Linked DNA regions of Homo sapiens: region 1 is linked to region 2. The links are contacts of gene promoters, found by promoter capture Hi-C in human tissues and cell types (Jung and others, 2019). All regions are on one chromosome and are shown on one strand. The core of a region is centred on a gene start or on the middle of the fragment in contact, and the rest is flanking DNA. Distances in the headings are between cores, read along the strand shown. Region 1 overlaps SCNN1B (sodium channel epithelial 1 subunit beta). Region 2 holds the start of SCNN1G (sodium channel epithelial 1 subunit gamma).

Region 1 (6,932 bases), core at 2,782-5,281, 160 kb after region 2:
TACCTTTAAAACACACTAAGTGAAAGAAGCCAGTCAGAAAAGACCACACATTGTGCAATTCCGTTTTTTGTTTGTTGAGACAGAGTTTCACTCTTGACACCCAGGCTGGAGTGCCGTGGCACAATCTCTGCTCACTGCAAACTCTGCCTCCCAGGCTCAAGCAAGTCTCCTGCCTCAGTCTCCTGAGTAGCAGGGATTACAGGCACGTGCCACCACACCCGGCTAATTTTGTATTTTTACTAGAGACAGGGCTGTACCATATTGGCTAGGCTGGCCTTGAACTCTTGACCTCAAGTGATCCACCCACCTCACCCTCCCAAATTGCTGGAATTATAGGCATGAGCCACTGTGCCCAGCCTGCAATTCTGTTTCTATTAGGGGTGTCCAATCTTTTGGCTTCCCTGGACCACATTGGAAGAAGAATTATCTTGGGCCACTTATAAAATGGACTAACACTAACAATAGCTGATGAGCTAAGAAAAAAAAAAATCTCCTAGTGTTTTAAGAAAGTTTATGAATTTGTGTTGGGCCACATTCAAAGCCATCCTGGGCTGCCTGTGGCCTGCAGGCCGCAGGATGGAAAAGCTTGATTTATATGAAACATCCAAAACAGGCAAATCTAGAGAGACAGAGAATAGATAAGTGGTTTCTGATGGGGAGGAGGAGGGTGGAGAGAGGAATGAGAAATAACTTCTAATGGGCATGGAGTTTTCTTTAGGGGAAATAAAGATGTTTTAAAATTGATTGTGATGATAGTTGAACAATGTGAATATACTGAAATCCAGTGAATTCTACACTTTAAATGGAACACACAACAAAAAATGCTAAAACAAATAGTTGTCCATATTTTTTAAAGGGAATCTTAGCTCCTACCCCACACTATATGCAAAAACTAACTTCAAATGGTTCATAGACCTAATAAAACTATAAAACACTCAGAAGAAAGCATAGAAGAAAACCTGTCTCGTAAGAGAACTGAAACAGGGCTGGGCATGGTGGCTCATGCCTGTAATCCCAGCGCTTTGGGAGGCCAAGGAGGGCAGATCACCAGGTCAGGAGATCGAGACCAGCCTGACCAACATGGATAAACCCCGTCACTATTAATAATACAAAATTAGCCGGGCGTGGTGGTGCATGCCTGTAATCCTAGCTACTCTGGAGGCTGAGGCAAGAGAATTGCTTGAACCTGGGAGGTGGAGGTTGCAGTGAGCTGAGGTCACGCGATCGCACTCCAGCCTGGGCAACAAGAGCAAAAGTTTGCCAAAAATAAAAAAAGGAAAAGAAAGAAAGGAAGGAAGGAAGGAAGGAAGGAAGGAAGGAAAAGGAAGGAAGGAAGGAAGAAAGAGGGAGGGAGGGAGGGAAGGAAGGAAGGAAAAAAGAAAGAAAGAAAAAGAGAAAGAAAGAAAGAAAGAAAGAAAGAAAGAAAGAAAGAAAGAAAGAAAGAAAGAAAGAAAGAAAGAAAAAAAGAAAGGAAGGAAGGAAGAAAAAAAAAAGCCGAAACACTTTTCCACATTTATTGTTTTTGCATTTGCTAACAGGAACATTTACCATGAGTTCAGGGCCAATGTATAGTCAGCAATCTGTGACTCTGAAGCATGACAATTGGTGTCTCTTTCTGTGTGCACACATGGACTTAGTCTCTACTTTACTTGTTTGGATTGGGTTAAGCTGTACACTGATTCAATCCCTTCTCCATAAACTGTGTATACATTCCAAACACAGACCATCTATCACCGTGGGGGTGAAATCTGACCAGAACATCATAAAGTTGTTTGCAGCACTTACTGAGTTTGATCTGGCTAATGACCCAAGGGGCCAGACTAGTTAGATGCTCAGCCAATACTCAACACACTTCTGTTATTTGCCTACCATTGTAACAACTTTTGCTACCTGTAGTACTGTTGTTTACTTAAACATTTTTCTTTAAATCAATTCCCCTTTTTTTACTTAAGCACGTTTATGAACATAAAGCAAAAGTCAGTATCTCTTGCCATAAGTAGAAGGTGGCTCTTAAAAGTAAGCCCAGTGAAAACAGAATGTTACCCATTCTAACTAGATACTGTTGCCTGAGCCTGAGGCCTCATTGTTAAACCCGGAGATTAGAAGGGTTGGAGAGGTGTTAAGGAGCTGTTGGTACCAAGCTGAGACTTTCTCCTTGACTAAATCAGAATAATTACATGAGAATAGAAAAGGGTAGACATTCTAGAGGCCCTTTATATCTTCTACAACTACCTATTGGAACCTAATGTGATGTTCACCTATGTGGCTTTGGGGTGCTAGACTATATAAGGCAGACGAAGCCTTGGTTCTTCCCATATGCTTGAGTCATGGCAAACATTTAATACTTTGATGTTGCTCTTGTAGTTGCTATTATAATAACTGTTATTACTTTATTATTTCAGAGCAGGGAATAGACCTTCTGGGGAAAGTTGGGAGTGGGGTTACTCTATGAACATCCTCTTACAGCCATGATGGCTTGGGCAGGCACATAGAGTTTAATTCCTATCAGAGAATGGAGTTGGAGGTGGGGTGCAGTGGCTCACACCTGTAGTCCAAGCACTTTGGGAAGCCAATGCGGGTGGATCGCTTGATCCCAGGAGTTCGAGACAAGCCTGGGCAACATGGCAAAACCTTATCTCTACTGAAAATACAAAAATTAGCTGGGCATGGTGGCATGCGCCTGTAGTCCCAGCTACTCAAGTGGCTAAGGTGGGAGGATCACCTGAGCCCGGGAGGTGGAGGTTGCAGTGAGTCAAGATCGTGCCACTGCACCCCAGCCTGGGCAACAGAGCGAGAGCCTGTCGAGAGAGAGGAGAGAGAAAGAGAGAGAGAGAGAGAGAGAGAACAGAGTTGGAGAAGAAAGCACTTCATGCTTTGGCCAAGACTCCTTCTGGGGAAGGAAGGTGAGAAATGTTACTGTGTCAGATAATTGGATCAGGAGTGAATATGCTTGGGCAGGTTTAACATCTCTGTTTAGACGTGAAGGTCTGACCTTATACATCTGGATATTCTGTGGGGTGTCAGGCACTGTGCTGGGCTTTGTCAGGGATACAGAGCTGCTGCCCTCAAGGGGCTTGCGATCTCCCGGGAGAAGCCACAGGCACAAGAAACTAGAACACAGGATAAAACAAGGGTCAATTTATTTTACTATTAAGCTTCTTATGGGTGCAAATGGCAGGCATCCAATTTGGATATGCATAAATAAGAAAGAAAATGTATTGTTTCCATATCTGATGAGGCCAGGAATGAATGGCTTCAGGCATGGCTGGATCCAGGTGTTCAAATGGCAAAGTCAGAAATTTCTCTCCATCTCGTGCCTCTTCTTTCCTCTGTATTGGCTTTATTCTCAGGAAGACTTCCCGTTTGGGCTGCCAAATACCACCAGCTTAGTAGGCTTAGTTAAAAGTGAGGTCTCTCCTTCAGTTATTCCAATATAAACGAATAGAATTGAGTCCTAATGTTCCACTTTGAGTCACATGCACATCTCCCAGAGCTAAGAGGAGAGATCAGCCTGGCAACTCACACCAACTGAGATGAAAGGGACAGCGGGATATCTTCACCTGAAACCTCAGTGCAAGGGGGAGAGTATGCTGGGCACAGAGGAACCACACTGCCCAGCATGGTGCCCCCAGAAGGGAAAGGCTCTCAGAGGGGGTGAGGGTCCAGCCTGAAGTCAGGAGAGCTTCATGGAGGAAGTGGCCTTTGGTCTGGACCTTAAAGATCAAATACAACTGGAGCTCCAGGAATAGAGCTGGGATGCTCCTGCCGCAGGTTCCTGCTCTGTGTCCAGAGAGAAGGGAGGGGGAAGCAGGAATGTCCTTAGAAACCCTCATGTGCCATAACAAGTACCTGGTGGTCTTCACAAGAACCTGCCCTCTCATGCATATGGGAAACAGAGTCTCAGAAAACTCTGGCATTCCTCATCCATGACCCATACTCTCCAACCTCATGCTCCGGACACAACCTCACCCCATTCTAATTTGTATCCATGGAACACCCTTTTTTCCTTTTCTTTTTTTTTTTTTTTTTTTTTTTTTTTTTGAGACGGAGTCTCACTCTGTCGTCCAGGCTGGAGTGCAGTGGGGCGATCTCAGCTCAGTGCAATCTCGGCTCACTGCAACCTCCACCTCCCAGGCTAAAGCAGTTCTCCTGCCTCAGCCTCCCAGGTAGCTGGGATTACAAGGGCCCGCCACCAGCTAATTTTTGTATTTTTAGTAGAGACAGGGTTTCACTATGTTGGCCAGGCTAGTCTCAAACTCCTGACCTCAGGTGATCCTCCTGCCTCAGCCTCCCAAAGTGCTGGGATTACAGGCATGAGCCACCGCACCTGGCTGGAATGCCCTTTTCAAATCCCAGCTTTGATGGCATCACACCCTCATGCCTCCAAAGGTTCCAGTTCTCTTGGGATTGAAACCCTAATCTTTAACACAGTCCACAAGCCCTTGCGTGGCCTGGCCCTGCTCACCCTTGCAGGCTCCCTCCCCACCCCTGCAGGCTCCCTCCCCACCCCTGCAGGCTCCCTCCCCACTTCAGCCTTCCCCCTTCCCCTCCCCTCTCCTATCCTTTAACCTCAGCTCCTCCATCACTTCTCCAAGGACTCTCAGACCTGGCCAGGCCTCCGTTTTCTAATAAAAATCGCTGACACTTAGGTGCCAGGCATGAATCTACCCTCTCCATATTTTCATGCAGCCAGCCTCCACGACAGCTTTATCAGGTGGAAGCTGTAATTATCCCCATTTTATGGATGAGGAAACTGAAGGACTGAGAAGGAGATTTGCTCAAAGTCACAAGCTAGGAAGCAGCAGGGCTGAGAGTCAAAGCCAGAAATTTCCCAGGAGTTCGAGGCTGCAGTGAGCCATGATCATGCCACTGCACTCCAGCCTGGGTGATAGAGTGAGACCCTGTCTCAAACAAACAAACAAAAAGCCAGAAAATTTGGTTACAGAATCCTTATTCTAAACCACCAGCCTTTAATGCCTCTAGCATCTCAGGGCATGGGGTCCCAATCTTTCCTGTCATGTTTCATAGCTCTGCTTTTTTGATGGATTCTTCGCTTAACATCTGTCTTACCCACCGACAGCTAGTGACAATGGAAACTGGCATACTGAGGACCTGGCCTGTGCTAGGCTCAGTCCATAGCACTTTTTGTGCATCGCCGAATTTCCTCCTCTCAGCAATCCTGTAAGTTAGATGTAATTGTTACAGTAAGTCTTCACTTAACATTGTTGATATGTTCTTGGAAACTGCAACTCTAGGCTAAACGATGTCTAATGAAATCAATTTCACCATAGGCTAATTGATATCAACAAGAGTTAAGCTCCTATGGCCTATTTCTGGTCACAAAAAAAGTCACCAAATTTCTAAGTAAAGACCAAAATGCTTCTAATATTAAACATTGAAATAAATATGAGCTATACATACATTTAAGAAAGATTAAGACCAGGTGCGGTGGTTCATGCCTGTAATGCCAGCACTTTGGGATGCTGAGGTGGGTGGATCACTTGAGCTCAGGAGTTTGAGACCAGCCTGGGCAACACGGTGAAACCCCGTCTCCACTAAAAATACAAAAATTCACTGATATGGTGGTGTGCATGCCTATAATCCCAGCTACTTAGGAGGCTGAGGTGGGAGGATCTCTTGAGCCTGGGAGGTAGAGATTGCAGTGAGCCATGACTGCGCCACTGCGCTCTAGGCTGGGTAAGAGAGTGAGACCCTATCTGAAAAAAGAAAAAGAAAAAGAAAGATTAATAAAAACAAGTAAGATCATTATTTACCCACTTATTCAGTTCAAGGTCACAGTGGCCAGAGCCTATCTCTGCAGCTGAGGCCACAGGCGGGAACCCACCCTACACAGGACACATTCCATTGCAGAGCACTCACACACAGTCACACTCACTCACCTGGGACCATGCAGACACATCATGGGGAGGACATGTAAACTCCATATAGACAGTGGCCCTGGCTGGGAATCTACTTTCTTTTCTCATCAATGTTACAATGAAACATTGAACAAAACGACGTCGTTTGAGGACTTGCTATACCACATTTTATGCACAGAGAACCTGAGTTGAGAGTTTAAGTCACTTGTTCACTAGGTTATGAATTCCCAAAGGGCAAAAAACCTTGTCCATTTTGCTCATTGAGTCCAGAAGGACCATTTGAGTGCCTGGCATATAGTAGGCATTCAATAAATGCATTTTGGTTGATTAGATGGATGGATGGATTGATGACAGATAGCCAAAGGAAGGAAGAAAAGAAGGAAAAAAGGGAGGGAGGGAGGGGGGAGGGTAAAGAGGGAGGAAGAACGGGGACGTACCGCCGCCCAGTTCCTGGACGTGACTGGGACATCCTCGCAGGCAAGGCTGGTGTCCCAGCTGATGTGCGTCCCCATGCCTCTCTGCAGGTGCCACTATGCACGTGAAGAAGTACCTGCTGAAGGGCCTGCATCGGCTGCAGAAGGGCCCCGGCTACACGTACAAGGAGCTGCTGGTGTGGTACTGCGACAACACCAACACCCACGGCCCCAAGCGCATCATCTGTGAGGGGCCCAAGAAGAAAGCCATGTGGTTCCTGCTCACCCTGCTCTTCGCCGCCCTCGTCTGCTGGCAGTGGGGCATCTTCATCAGGACCTACTTGAGCTGGGAGGTCAGCGTCTCCCTCTCCGTAGGCTTCAAGACCATGGACTTCCCTGCCGTCACCATCTGCAATGCTAGCCCCTTCAAGTAGGTGGCCCCGGAGTGCACAGCTGGCCTCAGCAGACAGGCGGTTCTCTTTCTCTCTTTTCTTCCCTTCTACCTTTCCTTTCCTTCCTTTCCTTCCTTCTCCTTTCTCTCCTTCTCTTTATTTCTCCCCTTTCTTCCTTCCTTTCTCCCTTTATTACTTTTCCTTCCTTCTTCTTCCCTTTCTTTTTTCTTTTCTTTCTTTCCTTCCTT
Region 2 (7,694 bases), core at 2,635-5,134:
TTTAAGGTTTCTTCCTCACTTACAGCCACATGATCTGAGAATTTCCCATTTACCAGTAGTGGTGAATCTCTTCAGTCATATTTGTTTTACCCATTCCTACCCTCACAGTGTTAGCTGATTGGACCAGGAATGAATACACCTGAGCCAAAGAAACTAGCTCATTGGCAGGCCAGTGGCCAATCAAATTTATCTTCAGGACTCATGAGACTAAGACAGGCTTTGAAAATTCAAGAAAGCCCACAAAATCCTCTGCCAGGCGCACTGACTTACACCTGTAATCCCAGCACTTTGAGAGGCCAATGCGGGTGGACTGCTTGAGCCCAGGAGTTCGAAACCAGCCTGGGCAATATAGAAAGACCTCCATCTCTACAAAACCCACAAAATGTATCTGGGTGTGGCAGTGCATGCCTATGTTCCCAGCTACTCTGGAGGCTGAGGGGGAAGTATCACTTGGGCCCAGGAGGTGGAGGTTGCAGTGAGCCGAGATCGCACCACTGCACTCCAGCCTGGGTGACAAAGCCAGACCCTGTCTCAAGTAAAAATAAAAATAAAAAAAGACCACAAAATCCTCCTCCTGAGAGATCCAGACCTTTCCTGGTTCCCATTCTCCTGAGACCCTCTGTGTTTCTTTGGATTCTGTAAAGGAGCCCTGCCTGCATCCATTTAATAATTTATTGATTCTGCTTGAGCTAATTTGAGTCTGTTTCTGTTGCCTGAAACCAAATGACTTTGCTAAGGCTAGGTTCGGTCATAGTCATATGCAAGGATGGCACGGAGGCCAGTGAAGGTGAAGCAGAATATGCGAGTGTGAGTAGGAAGAGACGAGGGCAGAGGGACAACAGGGTCAGATGATGGAGGGCCTTGCAGATGACCATAAGGATTTTGGCTTTCATTATAAATGAAGCAAGAAGCCACTGAATGGGTTTAAATAGAGAAATGGCATGATCTAACCTTAATTCAATAAGAATCTCTTTGACTGGCTTATTGACAAGAGGCTGTGGAGGGCAGAATTAGCAAGATTAGTGAGGAGCCTATGGCAATGATTCGGGTGAGAGACAATGATCAATTAGAGCATGGTGGTGGCCCCAGAGGTGGGGAGAAGTAGATTCTAGGTATATTTTATAAATCTGAACACTGATGCTTCAAGAAGGAGAGGACGTTGCCTATGGTCTTATGATGACAGGAGTGGTTTAGAGGCAATACCACTCTGTACTGAAGAATCAGATGGTGTTGGTCATAGGAGTGTACACATTTACCAAAACTCCTTGACTTGTACATTTTGGGCCAGGTGCAGTGGCTCATGCCTGCAATCATAACACTTTGAGAGGCCAAGGCAGGCAAATTTCTTGAGGCCAGGAGTTCAAGACCAGCCTGGGCAACATAGTGAAATTCCATCTCCACAAAAATAAAAAATTAGCCAGGCATGGTGGCACAGACCTCTAGTCCTAGCTACTATTTTGTAATCTGAGGCAGGAGGATTGCTTGAGCCCAGGAGTTGGAGGCTGCAGTGAGCTATGATCACACCACTGCATTCCACCCTGGGTGACAGAGCAAAACCTTGCCTCAAAAACAAACAAACAAAAAAATTGTGCGTTTCACTGTATATAAATTTTAACTTGAATCTAGCCTAATTCCATGCCTATAATGCCAGCACTTTGGGAGGCTGAGATGGGTAGATCCCTTGAACTCGGGAGTTCAAGACCAGCCTTGCAAACATGGTGAAACCCCTTCTCTACCAAAAAAAAAAAAAAAAAAAAATTAGTTGGGTATCGGTGGCATGCACCTGGGGTCCCAGCTACTTGGGAGGCTGAGGTGGGAGGATCCTTGGAGCCACAGGAAGTTGAGACTGCAGTAAGCCATGATCATGCCACTACATTCCAGCCTGGGTGACAGAGCAAGACCCTGTCTCAAAATAAATAAATAAATAAATAATTTAAAAGACAAAAAGAAGAAAAAGCTGGCTTTATTTTGCAGTGAGAATATAACTGTGTATTGTCATTCAAAACAAACATAGAATTTGAACAGTGTGTGTTTCAAAATCCCATTATATATGTATGTGTATATATATAAAACTAATATGTGTGTGTGGACACACACACATACACACACACCAAATAATAACCAAACTGTTAGCCATGCTTATTTGGGGAGGGGGGGGCACAGTTTATTGTTTTAATTCTTTGCAATGAGCATATATTGTTAGAAGAAGCAGCTGAGATTTTTTAGAGGATTTTCTTTAAATTTCTCTCCAATAATGCTGGACCTGTTTCCATCCACCTGGGCAAACCGCCCTTGGACCAGCAACCAAGGCATCTCCTAGGAATTTGGAAATTCGGACTCTTAAGACCCACTCCACCCCTATCGAGTCAGAATCTGCATTTTAACAACATCCATAGGTGATTGTAACCACATTCAAATCTGAGAAGCTCTAGGTAAGAACAGATCCTTTCCTCTCTCTGGGCTTCAGTTTCTCCCCGGCACAAAGGGGCTGTGTCTCTATGGTCCCTCCCAATTGCAGTTTTCTAATCTCGTTTCTTGTAGTTATCTGAGTCCCTATAAAAAGGCAGCTGAAGCTAGGAAAGGTGGCTTACCTCTGTAATTCCAGCTATTTGAGACGCTGAAGTGGGAGGCTCGCTTGAGCCCAGTAGTTGGCAGCTACAGTGAGCTATGATTGCAGCACTGCACTCCAGCCAAGGTGACAGAGGCAGACCCTGTTAAAAAAAGAAAGAGAGAAATAGAGGAAAGAAAGAAAGAAAAAGAAAGAAAGAAAGAAAGAAAGGAAGAAAGAAAAAGGAGGGAGGGAGGGAGGAAGGAAGGAAGGGAGAGAGAGAAAGAAGAAAGAGGGAGGAAGGAAGGAAGGAAGGCAAGCAAGCAAGAAAGAGAAAGGAAGGAAGGAAGGAAGGAAGGAAGGAAGGAAGGAAGGAAGGAAGGAAGGAAGGTGGGCGGGCGGGAAGGCAGGCAGGCAGGCAAGGAAGGAAGGAGGAAAGAAAGGAAAGAAAGAGAGAAAGAGAAAGAAGGACAGGCCAGGCGCGGTGGCTCACACCTGTAATCCCAGCACTTTGGGAGGCCAAGACGCGTGGATCACCTGAGGTCAGTAGTTTGAGACCAGCCTGGCCAACATGGTGAAACCGCGTCTCTACTAAAAACACAAAAATTAATCCGGGCATGGTGGCGCGCGCCTGTAACCCCAGCTACTTGGGAGGCTGAGGCAGGAGAATTGCTTGAACCCGGGAGGCGGAGGTTGTAGTGAGCTGAGATAGCGTCATTGCACTCCAGACTGGGCGACAGAGCGAGACTCCGTCAAAAAAAAAAAAAAAGAAGGAAAGAGGAAAAGAAAGAAGAAGGAAGGAGGAAATAACGAAAGAAAGAGAAAGAAGCAGCTGAAAAGGTCAAAGGATGAGTGGCCTGGCTGAACAGCCCCTGCTGCCTACAGCCGGACGCTGGTGGGCACTGAAGCTGCAGGTCTGGAGGGAGTCCGAGGAGCGAGGCTGCGTGGGATTACTGCTGGTGCTAGGGCAGGCACCTGCCATCTGGACGGGAGTGGAAGGAAGTCGCGGGGCAGTAATAGGGGGCAGCAGGCGCTTTGAGGCGCCTTGGGGTAAGTGCCGCAGAGACCCAGCGGGAATGCAGGATGGCAGGGCGGCCTCGGGGCGGCAGCAGGCACTGCGCGGTGGCCCAGGAAGACGCAGCGCGGCCGGGCTGGGGCGCAGGGCGGCTTCGGGGCGCCAGGGGGCGTTGTGAAGTCGTGGCCCGCTCCGGGCGGTCTCAGGTGCCTGGCGGCCTGGGGAAAGCACCTGGGCAGGTGGGGGCGGGGCCTGGGGAGGCGGGTCCCTAGGGGGCGGGGCCTGGCCGGCCCACAAGAGCCCGCGGTGGCGCTGCCAGGGGATGCTAGCCCGAGAGCGAGCAGAGGAGCAGCGCACCCGCACGAGCCTTGGACCCTTTGGAACCGAAAGGTGAGTTCAGCCGGGTTGGGTCGGACCAGCTCGGGGGTTCTGGGCACTGGAGCGGATGCCGGGCGCCAGGGCGTCGGACGCCGTCAGCGCGGTGGGTGGCCGAGCCAGCATCAGCCGGTGGCGGCTTCCCGGTGCCCGGGATGCTGGGACACCTTGCCCGGGCGGTAGCGGCCAGCTCTCCCGGGTCTACCCACGCCGTGGCCCGGAGCACGAAGCCAGTCGAGAGCCACTCAGAGTCCGGGGGTCTGGGGGTCCCGGGCCACACCTGGCCTCTTTTCTCCGCCCAGCGCCTGTTCAGCCCCCTTCCCTGCCGGGGTGAGTCGCGTGGACCTGTCCGCTACTGTTCCTTCTACCCTCTGGAATGCTTTCTCCGGGGTGACTTGGTGCAGAAAGAAGCAAACACTTGAAGTGGGCTGGTTGGATTCGCTCCAGCGCCTTCAGCCGGCGCTCCCCCGGGGCAGACGTGGCTTCCGCCACAGGACAGCGCCCGCTCGCTCCGCGCAGGGAGGGCAGGGCTGCGGGGTCGCTCGGCAGGAGCTCGGGTCAGGGCCCTGAGGTTGAGTTCAAGTGATTTCTGCACAGGACTCGCCCTTCGGGACGGGCACTGATCGGGAACTCTCCGGTCCAGCGAACCCAACGCTAGACTTGGGGCAAATCTCTCATCCCTCTCCAAGCTTTGGGGTCCTGCACTGTGGGATGGGGGACAGGCAAAGTCGGTGGTAGGTGAGGAGGGGGTGCACGGAGCCGCTGCGATGAGCCAGGGCCCTGGAATTCTAAAGAATCCTTCAAATCCTTTCTACCTGTGTGGTCTTGGGCAAATTACCTAACCTCTGTGCCTCAGTTTCCTTCTCTGTGAAATGGGCCAAGTAATAGCACCTCATATAACTGTAGTGAGGATTAAATCAGGTAGTGTGTGAAAAGGACTGAGTGGGATGCCTGGGAGTACAGAAAGGGATCAATAAGTGATAGCTGCCATTATTGCTGCTTTCCCTGCTGCTGTTATTATTATTAATGATTGAAGAGCAGCCTAGTTAGTCGTTAAAGGGACTCCTAGGTGCAAATCCCAGCTCAGCCACTTTCTAGTGTGACCTTGGGCAAGCTACTTAACCTGTCAGCGTCTGTTTCATTTGTACAATGGAGGTGGTTGTGATACCTACCTCAGACGATTATCGTGAAAATTAAATGAGGTGACAGCTGCAAAGTACTTAGAAGAGTAAGTGCTGGGTATCAGCTAGTAATTCTTCCACCAAGGGTATCACATTGGCTCAGGCTGCATAATCTAATGGTAGCTACAGTCTTGTTTTGCTTTGAAGTTGAAATATTATTTATATGAATATTTTATCTGTTTTGCAAAGAGCAAGATCAGTTCCCTTCCTTCACTTGGGGGCTCCTCTGACATTGTCGACTGATCCATTGGGGTCAAGGTCGGTTCTGGGGAAGGGGCTGATGGGGCAGAGGTACCCCTGAGAGCTGGGGATAGGAGCTTCCAGAATCACAGCTTCTGTTGAACATTCACAGAGGAGGGCTGCAGTTTTATTTGACAAGCAATTGAACCTGGACCTAGATTTTAAAAACAAACTCTCGCTAATTTTTTTCTTTCTTTCCTTCTTCTTTATTTCATTTTTTATTTTTTTGGATTGTAGTGAGGGAGGAGGTAAGGATAGGCAATATTTTAAGTGATAAAAAAATAAATTATATTCCTCTTGCCCAGAGGCTACTAGCATCATTTTGATGGTGTTCTTCATCCCAGCAAAATCATATCAATCTATGGAGGGTTTAGAGCAGTTTGTCTGCTCTGGACATCTCACCTCCATGCCCAGCACTCCATTTCCTTTCCATCTGAGGCCTTAAACCCACTAGCATCATAAGCTTGGAAGCCTCCTAGCTTTGCCCCAGCTTCCAATTTTAGCCCATATTTCATGGGTTCAGGGTGGGAAAAAAAGACATAACTCTGCAGGTTCCGAATACTGCCTAAAAATCTTGATGGGGCACATCGAAGTCACAGACATGGGTCCTCTCTGGTCCTGGGGACCACCCTGTATGCCCTAGGATATGTCCTAATTTGCCTTTGTCACTGTAGAAGGCATAGGACGACACAGTTTTCATATATCCCCCACCCCCAATACTAGTGCTCACAAGTCTTGGGAAGTGGTCATGTGCACTGTTCAGAGTTTGGAAATTAAATAGCTGTGTTCCTTCTCTTTCCTCCTACCTTTAGTTCTTGGTATTGTTAATTAACTCCCTGCACCCAGCGTACTACCAGGCCCCTCAAAGGCGTATGCCATAGCGGTGAAGGCTGCAGGGTTCCATCCAGCTCCTCCACTAACCAGCTGCATCATCTTACACAAGATATTCAACCTCTCTGAGCCCATTTTTCTCCTCTGTAACATGGATATAATAATAGCATGCCTACTTCATGGAATTATTGAAACACAAAAGGAAATATATGTAGGCTATGTGTATATTTATAGAGAGAGACAAATTTACTTATGAGACTAATGAGACTATATATTATAAACATGAAATGAGTTTTTATGTAGTATATTAGTTCATTTCTAAAATTATTTCTCATTGTAAAGTTTGTATAGTTGAGATGCATCGTGCACATTGATGAATGTGATAATTTGCCTTCCAATACTGGTACTCTCCCCCAAAGCTGTTATTAAATCAAGGGCATTCTCTAAATTAATGGTATCTTAGAATCAAGGAAATATGGCACAATGCCTGGCAAACACTAAGTGGCCAATAGTTGCAGGTTATTGTTACATCAGGTGATCTAGAAACATTAAGAGCTTGACTGTAAAGAGAAGAAACAAAAGAGAAATCGTTTCACTTATAATAAAGCCTCAGAGAAAAGGCTGGGGAAAATGCAGCCAGGAACATGATCTAAGGTGGCTGCCGGGAAATTTTCTTGGCAGATTTCATCTGTCAGTTACAATCTGCCGAGCACTGCTCTGTGCCAGACACTGTGCTAGGAACCAGGGGGCATAATGAGATAGGAATGCTGCCCTTGAGGAAGGCGGGCTACTGGAGGTGATAAGGCACGGGTACCCCTGCCTGATAAGAGAGCTGATGGGGCTGCTTCCAGAGTTCCTGCCCAGGAACCCGGGGAAAGGTCCTGCAGCCTGTCCAGCCAGCGCTTCGCAGGTTGCACCTCACCCAGCCCCCGCACGGCTAGGCCTGGGGGCCGTAAGAGAAGTAGGCAGCTTCTCTGGCAGCTGTGGTGGCCAAAAACAAACGTCCCGTGGAAAAGGGGCCAAGGATTCAGAATGCAAAGTGCCTAAGCCACAGAGGAACAGAGGAAGGAGGTCTCTAAGGGCGCATGGACTGGTGTTTCCCAGACTGTGGTCTCCAGGGACACACTAGCCGGCTAGTGCCTGCCAGCTCACCTGCTTCTCTTCTTTGCCCCTCCAGCACGCCCGTCCTCAGAGTCCCGTCCTCAAAGTCCCATCCTCGCCATGGCACCCGGAGAGAAGATCAAAGCCAAAATCAAGAAGAATCTGCCCGTGACGGGCCCTCAGGCGCCGACCATTAAAGAGCTGATGCGGTGGTACTGCCTCAACACCAACACCCATGGCTGTCGCCGCATCGTGGTGTCCCGCGGCCGTCTGCGCCGCCTCCTCTGGATCGGGTTCACACTGACTGCCGTGGCCCTCATCCTCTGGCAGTGCGCCCTCCTCGTCTTCTCCTTCTATACTGTCTCAGTTTCCATCAAAGTCCACTTCCGGAAGCTGGATTTTC

Evidence for each region. The method cuts DNA at HindIII sites, captures the fragments that hold promoters and counts their contacts. A contact is called where the count stands out against the background at its distance.
Region 1: a contact is called between a fragment that was not itself captured here and the fragment with the promoter of SCNN1G in region 2, in 1 of the 25 tissues and cell types used here (pancreas).

What each region holds. Positions count from the first base shown.
Region 1 is chr16:23,342,189-23,349,120 of GRCh38, forward strand. It overlaps SCNN1B (sodium channel epithelial 1 subunit beta), which reads left to right. Exons shown (of 13, transcript NM_000336.3): 2 at 6,404-6,722. The coding sequence starts at 6,412. Among named protein-coding and RNA genes, the nearest start is that of SCNN1B, 43 kb to the left of the region's middle. RefSeq lists an enhancer at 6,032-6,533. The HindIII fragment of the contact is 4,323 bases long and covers 1,871-6,193 here.
Region 2 is chr16:23,178,861-23,186,554 of GRCh38, forward strand. It overlaps SCNN1G (sodium channel epithelial 1 subunit gamma), which reads left to right and starts at 3,885. Exons shown (of 13, transcript NM_001039.4): 1 at 3,885-3,953; 2 at 7,368-7,694. The coding sequence starts at 7,412. RefSeq lists a silencer at 3,607-3,856 and enhancers at 6,892-7,393, 7,394-7,694. The HindIII fragment of the contact is 8,387 bases long and covers 1-5,224 here.